Linked DNA regions of Homo sapiens: region 1 is linked to region 2. Evidence: promoter capture Hi-C in 16 types of primary human blood cells and fetal thymus (Javierre and others, 2016). All regions are on one chromosome and are shown on one strand. The core of a region is centred on a gene start or on the middle of the fragment in contact, and the rest is flanking DNA. Distances in the headings are between cores, read along the strand shown.

Region 1 (5,955 bases), core at 3,021-5,520, 290 kb before region 2:
TAAGCTGGATTTCTGTCACTTGCCATAAAAAGCCCTATCTAACATAGTCCCCTTGACCTCTGTCATGAAGCCACCTTGCTTTCCTCTGGTTCCTCAGCCACCGCTCCCCTTCCAGGCTCCAAGGGGAAGGAGGTTTGCCTTCTAAGTATGATGGGGAGGCAGGTAGGATGTAGGGGAGATGGCTGCTGCTCCAGGGATGACCATTCTGTGAGCTCCAGCAGTAGTCTTGGGCTTCTTCCAGATTTAGAGCTCTGGCTGTGGAGAAATTCATTCCAAGGCTCCTTGTGTTGCATCTCAGAGACCTCAAGCTGGGAGGGAGAGTGGGACCCCCATAGCTTTCTCTTCACCAACAAATCTGAAGTCCCACAGTGAAGCCTCCATGGTGTTGCTGACCACAGCAATAGGTATCTCAGCCTACTGTGGGACACCAGGTTAATGTAAGGGATTATCTTCTGTCCTTAGGAAGTATTCCCACAGCCAAGTAGCTGCCTTTCCTTCAATTAGAGCATGCTAACTTGGGCACGCAATGGATATTTTTCTCAGCCCCAAATCATTATTACTGACCACTGTCTTTGTCCCAAAGTCATCATGGAAAAGCTATTTTCTTTTATTTCTCTATGTATAAATACATTATTTTTTCTGTTCCACATTGCTGAGGTAGAATCTGCTGCTGGGGTCTTTTTATGAATGTCCTATCAGGTTGTGTTAACACAAAGCCAATTTTCAGAGGTATTTAAAGTAAGGCTAAGAGCAGAGGCTCTGGTGTTCAACTGCTTGGTTGGACTTCTAGATCTGTTACTTACCAGTGGTGTTCCCTGAAACAAATCACTTAACCCCTCTGTGCCTCAGTTCCCACGCATGAAAACTGACGCTAGGCACAGCACCTATTTTATAGAGCCATTGTGAGAAGTTAAATGTTATAGAAGACATGAAGGGCTTACCAGAGGGTCTACCACATTAGTACTCATTTAATAAATATTAGCAATAATAATCATTGTTTCACATGGAGGCTGTGAGATCTGTTTCTTATATTATAGTCTTTCTCTTTCTTCTGGGAAATGGGACTCAGCAAAATTAGTAGCAAGAAGACCAAAGGTGTGCTGGAAGAGAAAGATGCTGGGATGACCTCTTGCTCTTAGCACTGAACAGAAAACAGTTCTGAAAACCCACTGCCCTAAGCTCTCCTGTCCAATGCAAGCATAAAGGGAGCATCCTGGAACCCCAGCTGCCCACTGTGGACAGCTGAGCCCCTGTCTGCTCTCTATTTCCTCCTAAACAGGGCTGCCCTTGTGGGAGAGAGGACAAAGGTGAAGCTCGAAGGTGGGAGGAAAGTAGCCACCAGATGGAGTGAGGAAAGTCTCAAGAATGGGGTACTGTGTGGGAGACGGCTTGACGTCAGGAGCAGGAGGGGTGGGTGGAGGTTCTCTTTTGTGGATCAAAAGGACAGGGAGGAAAAGCAACAGATGAAAGAGGAGTGTGTACTCGTACAGATAGGAGCCACTTCTTGAGGGAGGACAGAGCCTCTTCCATGTCTCTTTTATGGCCTGGAAGAATCCCTCCTCTTCCCACTTTTTAGTCAGATGTGTACATCTGCAAAACCGCCAGCTCTTTGAGCTAATGTTTGTGCTAAAGGACATGATTAGATCCTGGACTTAATTTATGCATTTCTTTGATTCTGATGCAGCTGTGTAAGCCATGGTTATTTTATTTACTTTTCTCTGGACTCACCCTTTATGATTTTTCCTAGACTGCTTGTTCCTTTCTCTTGCTGCTTTTCTGAGCTTTTGATCTGTTTGCCCATGTGGATTAGGTGGCGGAATATGAAATTCCTGCTTTTCAGCCATTTTTGACCTACCAAAACAGCAATTTCATTTGGCCCAACTGAATATTTTCAAGTTAAGATTACAACTGTGAATTCCCAAGGGAGCTGGATTGTAGCCACCCGCCCGACTTCCTCACCTTCCAGTGGCATTCCATCTTTGGAACTGAGTGCCTGTAATCTTCTATCATCTTCCTCACCTTCCACAGATTTGAGGAAGATGGGAAGATGAGGCTAAAGACATACTTGATAGAAGAATACAGGCACTCAGACTGGCCTGGTATGGGGCCTGCTTCCCACCCATCAAGCCCGGTCCTCCACAGGCAGGTGAGAGACCAAAGACTTGGGGACAACCTGCCACTGAAGAGGAGGTTGTGGTGACAGAAAGCAAGTTTACTGTCAAGAATGGAAAATGGATGTGGGAGCAGCTCATGCTTAGATGGCAGCCCTCTATGCCAGGCACTGCTCCCTGTGCTGCCTGTGAATGTCACAGCAACCCCATGCCATGAGTACTTGGAATGTCCCCATCTGCCATGAGGGAGCAGAGGCACAGAAAGGTAAGGCAGCTCACCCACAGTTACATAGCTAGTAGGTGGCAGAACCAGGATTTGAACCCAGGCAGCCTGGCCCAGGAGTCCATGGTCTCAGCCACTCCACTATAAAATGGTGTTTGACCAAACAAGAATCAACAAGTGCCCATCTGTCCTTTATTGTACACTGCTAATCTTATTATTTATCAAATATTCCTGCCCAGCCTTTTCATTTCAGTGCTGTCCTGGCATTGTTGTTGGCTTGGATGAAGTAGTTTTTCTGGATAAACTCTAATGTAAGTCCCTTGGTAATTATCTTCTTGATGATTAATTCTCCTGGGATTTTACCACCATCCTCTGCACACTTGTGCAGCCCTTGACACTTGACAAAGCAGTTTCAGGTTCATCTTCTCATTCATTCCTCACAATCCCTGTCTCCTGAATAAGGAAACTGAATTCACAGGGCGCTGCTAAAGAAATGCTTTGACTCCCCTTGACACCACCTTCAGGGGCTGCATGACTTTAGAGAGCGATCTAACCTCCCTGAGCTTGTTTCTTTATTCCTAGATCGGGAATATTCATAGCTGGCAGGGTTGGTGTCCAGCGCTGTCTGTGAACTTGTCTATCTTGTAGACATAGTAGAGGTCCCTTCCCTTTTTGGTCTACTTGAGGCTGGCTATCCCATGTTAGTCCAAATCACAGTCATTGGCATAAACTGACACCAGGTCTATAGGTTATAAAGCAAACTAACCTAGTTACACATTCTTTACTCTATAGTTGGAAACTACTGTAGTTAAATGGCTGCTTTTAGAGTGTTTCATTTGCCATGTGGAGGCAGTGATAGTAACTCTCCCAAGGACTCACTGTGAGGACTGAGGAAGGTAATGCACCGAGTAGTACCAGGCACTCTGTAAATACTCAGATAATGGAGCCATCTAGGTGTTGTAGTTGTTGTTACTGTTATTCGTTTGTTTATACTTTTCCAAGGAGCCTTCATATTCACCCTACCCAGCAGAAAAAGTTGCTGGGCCTATGGGACATTTTAAAGTTATAAACTTTTCTGCTATCTGTGGCTACTAAAAAGATACTTTTACTAGATTTCAAGATGTTAGCATTCATTTTATCACTGGTTCCCTTCTGTTTGGTGACTTTCCCAGGGAATGGTTCAGTCACATGAAGATTTCTATTTTTATCTGGGAAAAGGTGGGGGAGAAGGTAAGTGACATTTAGGGAATGAAAGGATCATCATTTTTCTAATGGACCTGTTTCCAACATGTGTCCCCTTATCTCTAACAGATTGTAATGCTGTAAACCTTTCTGTTCCACACTAAATCATGAGATATGTATCAGGAAAGAAAGGGGCCTTCAGCAATCCATGCTGGGGTCACCTAGATGTTGCCCATATGTGATTACTGCCTATTTCAAAAGAAATTAAAATTTTAAAATTAACTATTGCAGTAATAATGGAAACATTTTAAAGCTTATGTTTACTATTTGTGGGAGAGAAGATAAACTTTTTTCTGGAGTAAAATTAAACGGGCCTTGTTGAACTTACTTGCTTTCTCTCTCAGGAGCTGTCAGCCTTTCTAAGGTGCCAAGTCTGAAGCTATTCATTCCCTTGGAGCAGACCGCAGGGGCCTGCAGAGAGGAGGGCAGCTGCCTTTAGATTGTCCCCCAGAAAGATGCCTGATGGTGGTGTGTTACTGTCTGGGCCTCACGTGGGACCATTTGGGGCAGAGGTGTGAGAGGGGATGGGGGTGTGAGAGGGGATGGGGGTGTGAGAGGGGATGGGGCTGTGAGAGGGGATGGGGAGGTGAGAGGGGATATGGTAGGGAGTGGCTTTGGGCTACTACTCAGACAGACGAACAGAGAGAAAGTAGAAGTGTGGCTTTCCTGCTTTCCTCCTGTCTTCTGCCTCTAGTCCAGGCTTCTCTTACCAACCTGGCATCTGAGCTCATCTCTAGGTACTGTCTCCGTGTACAGATATCACTCTGTGGCCTGCCACTCCATCATCTCTTCGTTCTTAAGATACTGATCACCTAGGGGTAGAGCGCCTTCTCCTCTGCACAGTGTTGAAATGCATTTTTGTAATCCAGCTCCCTTTTTTAATCCTCCATCGCCATTAAGTTTTGCTGCAGTAACAAATTAACCCAAAAAGTTCAAGGACTTAATTCAATTAAGACCTTATTTCTTGCTGATTTTACATGTTCAATATGGCTCAGTGAGGTTTGTGTTTCACATACTTTCTCAAAGATCCAGGCTGATGGAGGCTCAGACAGCTCAAAGCTGCACCATCTTGAGGTCTCCACAGAAACTATGGTGGGGAAAGAAGAGCTGAGCTGGAGGGTCTCGTGTAAGCTTTTGGAGTATCACTTCTTACAGACTCTTGACAAGAACTAATCACATGACTTCTCCTAACTGCTAGGGGGCTGGAAAATTAGGTGGATCCTACAGATAGTCAGTATGCAGATGATGCTTCTGCCACAACACATCCCCCCAAATTTTCAATATAATTGAGTCGATTACAGCTTTCCAATCGTAAGTTAGTCTTTCTAAGGGTACTGGTTGGCTAGATTGGAGTTGTCAGTTTTCAAAGATTTCCCAGTCTCAGGTTAACAAGCCTTCTTCTGTGCTCTTAGACAATGTAGTATGCATGTTGGTTATAGACCTTACCATGTTGCATTAGATTTAGTCGTCAGTGTTTCTGTTTCTGCCTCTCTATGCTTCTCCGTGTCTTAGCCAAACTTCTAAATCTTGAGGGCAGGAAATAGGTGTTTGGAGTTTTTTAAAGAAAAACATTGCTAATACTCAGCAGAATGGCTGGCTCTTTGGTGAGTCAGGGAGGAAGGAAGGGAGGGAGAGAATTAATGAATGAATGAATCAATCAATCAAAGCCACCTCTTAGAGTATGTTAGTCCCAAACTAAACACATCTATTATGGGTTGATTTTACCAGTGTAGTGGGCATCAGTCTCAGGATAAATGTTCGGGTGTATAACAAATGCAACTTTAAATGTTTTTCTCTAATTCCTTTAATTTACATGTTGTGCTCCCATTCCACTAAGTGGGGGAACGGAATTGCTGTCTGGTAATTCCAGGTCCCCCATCACCTTTTTCCAGGGCCATGTCTAATCTGGAGGCCAAGACTGTAAGGAGCTGGTATCTGTTCCCGAATGCTGTCTGTCCTGAAGGCATCTCCATGACACATTTTGTCTCATTGAGCCTCCACTGTCAGTCCACAAGGTCCTGGTGGGCGCCCCCTAGTTCCTGTTTGAAAGGCTTCTGGGGTCTAGTTCACTATATCCCCAAGTCTCTTTAAACTCCATTAGGTCAAGAGAAGCCTTCTTCAGCCATTGAGGAAGGGAGCCCAGGGCACCTTGAGAGTCCATTCTGGGTTTCACCTACAGTCATGCCACATGAGCCACGGGCAGTGCAGGGCCATGGAAAACTCTATGACCTTGTCTGACATGTCACACAGCCATTTCTGCTCTAGGTATTTTGCTTTCCTGTATTTCATTCAAAGGGTAAAACATAGATTCCCTTTGTTCTGTAAACCTACAAACATGTCTGAGCATTCTCTCTCTCTCCCCCAGGGCTTTGCTGCAGA
Region 2 (5,144 bases), core at 1,954-4,453:
TAATTTCCATCTGAGGCCTCAGCAGCCTGGACTTCACTGTTCACATCACTATCAGCATTTTGGTTTGAAGTCCAGGCTTCTGAGGTCTCGAATGGAAATAAGGAAATTATTGGGAACTAGAGCAAAGGTCACGCATGTTTTGCCTTAGCAAAGTGCTTGGGTGCATTCTGTTCATGTCCTAGCTATCAGCATTTTGGTCACAACCATTTAACCAGTCCCTAAGAAATTCCAAACTTTCCCTCATCTTTCTGTCTTCTTCTGAGCCCTACAAACTCTTCCAACTTCTGCCTGTCACCAAGTTCCAAAGCTGCTTCCACATTTTCAGGTATCTCTACAGCAATGACTCACTTCTCAGTACCAGTTTTCTGTATTAGGTCATTCTTGCATTGCTATAAAGAAATCCCCAAGACCAGGTAATTTATAAAGCGAAGAGGTTCATGGTACTACAGGCTATACAGGAAGTATGGCACCAACATCTACTTCTGAGGAGTCCTAATGAAGCTTCTAATCATGGCTGAAGGCAAAGGGGGAACAAACATTCATATGGCAGAGTAGGAGCAAGAGAGAGTTGGCGGGGGCGGGGGGGGGGGGAGGTGCCACACCCTTTTAAATGACTAGATCTCGGGAGAACTCACTCATTATTGTTAAGACAGCACCAAGCCATGAGGGATCCTTCCTCATGTTGCAAACACCTTCCACCAGGCTCTGCCTTCTAGCTCTGCCTCCAGAATTGGGGATTCCAATTTAACATGAGATTTGGATGGGGACAGATATCCAAACTATATCAGCCGTGTAGTGCCACCCTCTAACCCATCCTTCCATTTTCTTGCTTTTCCCAGTCCTAACTATACCTGCATATCAGCTTACCTCAAAGTTCTCTCATTAGCTTGTCAATATTTTTAAGATTTTACCTCTTATCATCCCTGAATAATGTTTCCTCAATGAGTGAAGCTAAGATTATGATTATTCTTCTTCAACCCAAGAATTTTCCAATTTAGACCTGTGAATACCACACTTGTGGAAATGTAAAATGTATTTAATCTTTCATAAGTCTGACAAGCTCTGCCATGTTCAACTGATTTGTTGTGTATGTAATTCACTGCCTGAGTTTCAATCTGGATGTCTATATTGAACACTTCAGTTTTAGGATATATACCATTAAAAGGTATGCAAAAGATCCTTTTAACTTGCTGATATAGCACTCAGTAATCAGATGCTGTTCAATTTCCATTATGTCGATGGTGTTTTCAATCCTGTGAACTTTGCAATCCATGCGCCAATGTTGGCAGAAATACTGAACTCTTATTACAAAATTTTCATATCATTTAAAGCTTTAGATTATTGCCTTTATAGTGGAACTTCTGTGAAATTGAGTCCTGAGATCTGAGTTTTAGCCTTGAGGTTGCTCCTGACCTTGAGACATTAATACTCAAATCTTAAAGTTTTCTGGGCCTCCGTGCTGGGATTGGTCATAGTTCAGTTGTTTCCTGTCTTCTCTCTTCTCTTCCTCTCCCAGAGTGCTCAGCCCAGGTTACCACACCAACTTAATCTGTAACATTTCGGTAAGTCATCTGGGCAGGATCCTTGATCCTCTAAGCCTTATGTGACTGATCTGCAAAAAAGGAGATAATAGCATGTACCAGCTGATAGTTATGGTGGCGATTAAAGGAGATCAGGAATGTAAACATTGGGTGCAGTGGTTCACGCCTGTTGTCCCAGCGCTTTGGGAGGCCAAGGTGGGATGATTGCTGGAGCCCAGGAGTTTGGGATGACTCGGGGCTGCCCAGCCTCAGGCTGGGCAACATAGCGAGAACCTGTCTCTTAAAAAACAGAGAGAGAGAGAAGAAAATCAGTCATGACTTACAATGGAAGAAATTATCATCAGGATGTATTTGGAAATAATATTTAGGTTGAAAGACTTAAGCAGGAATATTATTTCTCATGTCCACTGGAAAACACAGTGACATGACTCCCAAAACCTTCAGTCAACAAGTCTGTCTTACTGTTTCCTCCCCAGATTCTAGGGATATTAGCAATCAACGGCTCTCAAATCTTTACTCTTGGTTAGATAAAAGCTATCTTCAACTAATTTTTCTTCTGATTCAATTTGTCATTAAATACACTGATCTAAGAATTTATCACGCATCTCACTTGTACAATTTCTCCTTTGAAAGCATCGAATTGCAACCTTGTATGTGTAACTGTTCCACACATTCAGAAACGGGCCCCTTCAATTCGCGTGGACCTATCTGCTAAGTGGTGCACAGACTCGCGCTCTGAGCCCGCAGCCACGACCTTTAATGCGGGAAATGTGCATGATCCCATACAGCGCCCATCTCAACAACTAGAGGCTGGGTGCACCCGAGAGGGGTATGCCTGCCTTGAAGATATGGAAAAGTTTTGTTTTCGTTCTTTCCACTCCTTGGACAGTCCCTAGTGCTTGCGCGGAACCGGGACGTCTCCTTTGGACCCGCTAATGTCACAAGCCGCCCGAGCGCGCCGCTGCTGGCCTCCGCCCAGACCCGGATTCCTCCCCCTTCCCGGCGCCCTTTCTCGGGCGCCCGGCCCGCAGCTGGCGAGGGCTCTCTGACCGCTCCGGTGTCCTCGCCCCATTTTACTTCTTGGGTCCCCGCCGGTGCCATCTGGTTGGAACCCTCGGGAGGAACTAAAAGTTGGACGTCGCCACCCCTACCCCTCGCCAAAAAATAAACACCGGGGGCTGCCGAGGCCCGCCAGGAGGAAGGCGACGAGGAAAAAGCGAGGACGGAAGGCGGCCCCGGGTTCGCCCCGGCCTGGGCCGCCCGCTTCCCCACCCCGCGCACCGTACCGTCCCCGGCTCCCTGGCTCCCCGACGGCGAGGAGGGCCGCCGCTTCCGCGTCGGGGTCGGCCGGGGGACCTGCGAGGTGCGGCTGCCGCAGCGGCGCGCCCCGGAGCCTGGCCCGGCATTCCAGTCCGAATAGAAAGAGGCAGGGAATCAAATGGAAAAGCAGGAGGCCAGGCCTGGGCGGGCGAGCTGGGAAGGAGGCGGCGCGGCGGGGCCCGGGAACCCAGCCTGGAGCGCTCTGAGCGGCCGGCTCGGACTCACGCGGCGCGCCCGGGCCGCCCCTCCTCCCCGCGCCGCCGGCCGCGGCCCAGGCTCCCTCGCTCCGCCACTCCCCGCCCCTCCGCGCTCCCTCCCCGCCCTCCCCGCGCCGCCGCCTCCTCCTCCCGGCCTCCCTCTCCCAGCCAAACTGAAAGCCGGACCCCAGGCCGCCGCGCTGCCGCCCGGCCTCCCCGCCAGCGCGCCACCATGGGCAGTCCCGGTTTCCCCTTGTAAAGATGGCGGTGAGGGATCGCTGCAACCTTTAGACTAATGACTGTCCGAAACATCGCCTCCATCTGTAATATGGTGAGTGGCCGAGCCGCCTCGGGGTCGCGCCCGACTCGCGGCGAGGCAAAGAAAGGGAAGCCCGAGCTGCACACACGCCCGGTGGCTGGGGCGGCGGGGGCGGCGGGGTCCGCGCCGCCAGAAGTTCCCGGCCCCCGAGCTGGGCGCGCGGCCGCAGCCACCTCAGCGGCCGGGGAGGGTCCCCGAGCCCCCGGCGCCCGTCTCAGCCCCGGGACCTCGGAACCCGCCCGGCGATCCCGGGGCCGCGCTGCTGCGCCCCCCGCCCTCGGGTTGCGGTGGAAGCGGCTTGAGGGAAGGGAAGCGACCGAACCTGAACGTCCCCGGGGAGGGGGTGGGGGATAAGCTGGAGGTGGGGGGCACCCATCCTCTTCTTGCGGTCAAGACAGCCTTATTGGACGTCCAGACTGCCCTCATCTCATTTTGAGTTCAGTCCTTCCGAGGTGTTTAAAATTCACTTTGCAATAGCAATTGTGTATCTGGAGAAATCGGAAATGTAATAAAGCTGTAAAAAAAGTGCAAAATTGTGGCTGGAGAAGTGAACTTCAACCTGGTTTGAAAAAGCACCGTAATTTGCTCCGCATGCCTCAGTTTCCCCATCTGTGAAAAAGGGACAAGGCTCTGTGGCGGTAATATTTGCAGGCCCTAAGGGTGGGGCGGGCTGTGGGCTTGGAGGAGGTCTCCAGGGTTATCCTGCCTGATCCGCTGTAGACCTAGGGGAGGCTGGCGGGCATGGATACAGCCAGGGACATCACTGGGTTCTGATGCAGTCCGAGCCCATGATGCGGTGGTCACTTTAATTTGGGTTTCCCCCATTGCTTTCCCTTTTTCTGTAGGAAGAACCTCCAGCCCTTGGGTCCCCAGGCTGGACCCTGCTGGCGCCTCCACTTGTCAGAGCCTTTGGGGAGCTCAGATTGGAGTAAGGCATTGCTGTCCCTTGCAGGGTGAGATGATGTGTGTTTTGCCTACATTCTTTAGACTGCACCCCGCCTCCCCTCTAGCCCCCTCCCAAGCGGGTCCCCGGAGGCAACACGTGCTCTTACAGTGCCAGTTTGAGGAAAACCTCCCTTGAAGCTAGTAATACTGGCCCCTAAAGGGAATCCAAGGAAGCTTGATGGAGAAGCCCTGGTGTAAGGTGATCTGGCTGCCCTTCCCCCATCACATAGCTTTTTAAATCTTCTGTCCCACATTCTGTTGCAAGATCAACACATGGCAAAGGAGCATTAAGAAGCCTTGTGTTAGCTCAGGGGTGGAATTGAGACCCGCTGGCTTCAGCTTTCAGCACAATGGGACGTGCCACTGTCACGGCCAGCAAAGCAAATGCTGGGGCCTCCCAGAGTGATAGCTGCACAGGTACTGGTTGGTGCCGGGCGAGTTCCATACGGGGAGTGGATCCTAGAGCCTTTCTGTTTTCTCTTTTTTTCCTTTCTCTGCGAGGAGTCAGATTTCCTCTTATTCCTGTGGAGGGGCTGCTTGTGAAGAGGTGATGCCTTCTCAGTTTCTCTCCTACGACCAGTTCCTGAGGGAACTGTGAATCGGGAGCAGCTTGAATACTCTTTTATGTCTGTTGGTGTGGCCGCAGGCCTAAGGATACTACAGGGTAGTGAGGCTCCGACCCAGCCCTTGGTGGTGTTCTTGTCCTGCTTGTGTGTGGTTACACCTCTCTGTGTAGAAGCAGGCTGGAAACTTGAGAGCTAGCATGCCCCTAGAGGAAGCCAGCCCCCAACCTCCCCCCACGCGTCCCCCCACCCACCCTCA

What was found. The method cuts DNA at HindIII sites, captures the fragments that hold promoters and counts their contacts. A CHiCAGO score of 5 or more calls a contact.
Region 1: a contact is called between a fragment that was not itself captured here and the fragment with the promoter of USP46 in region 2, in 1 of 17 cell types (M0 macrophages). The highest score is 5.5, in M0 macrophages.

Annotation. Positions count from the first base shown.
Region 1 is chr4:52,950,430-52,956,384 of GRCh38, reverse strand. The region is part of intron 5 of SCFD2 (sec1 family domain containing 2); the gene reads left to right. It overlaps SCFD2-AS1 (SCFD2 antisense RNA 1), which reads right to left. Exons shown (of 3, transcript XR_245255.4): 3 at 5,363-5,955. Among named protein-coding and RNA genes, the nearest start is that of SCFD2-AS1, 26 kb to the right of the region's middle. RefSeq lists an enhancer at 5,168-5,955. The HindIII fragment of the contact is 878 bases long and covers 3,832-4,709 here.
Region 2 is chr4:52,657,360-52,662,503 of GRCh38, reverse strand. It overlaps USP46 (ubiquitin specific peptidase 46), which reads left to right and starts at 3,203. Exons shown (of 9, transcript NM_022832.4): 1 at 3,203-3,389. The coding sequence starts at 3,354. It overlaps USP46-DT (USP46 divergent transcript), which reads right to left and starts at 3,098. Exons shown (of 2, transcript NR_125363.1): 1 at 2,828-3,098; 2 at 1,006-1,612. RefSeq lists silencers at 2,790-3,219, 3,230-3,749. The HindIII fragment of the contact is 3,165 bases long and covers 1,334-4,498 here.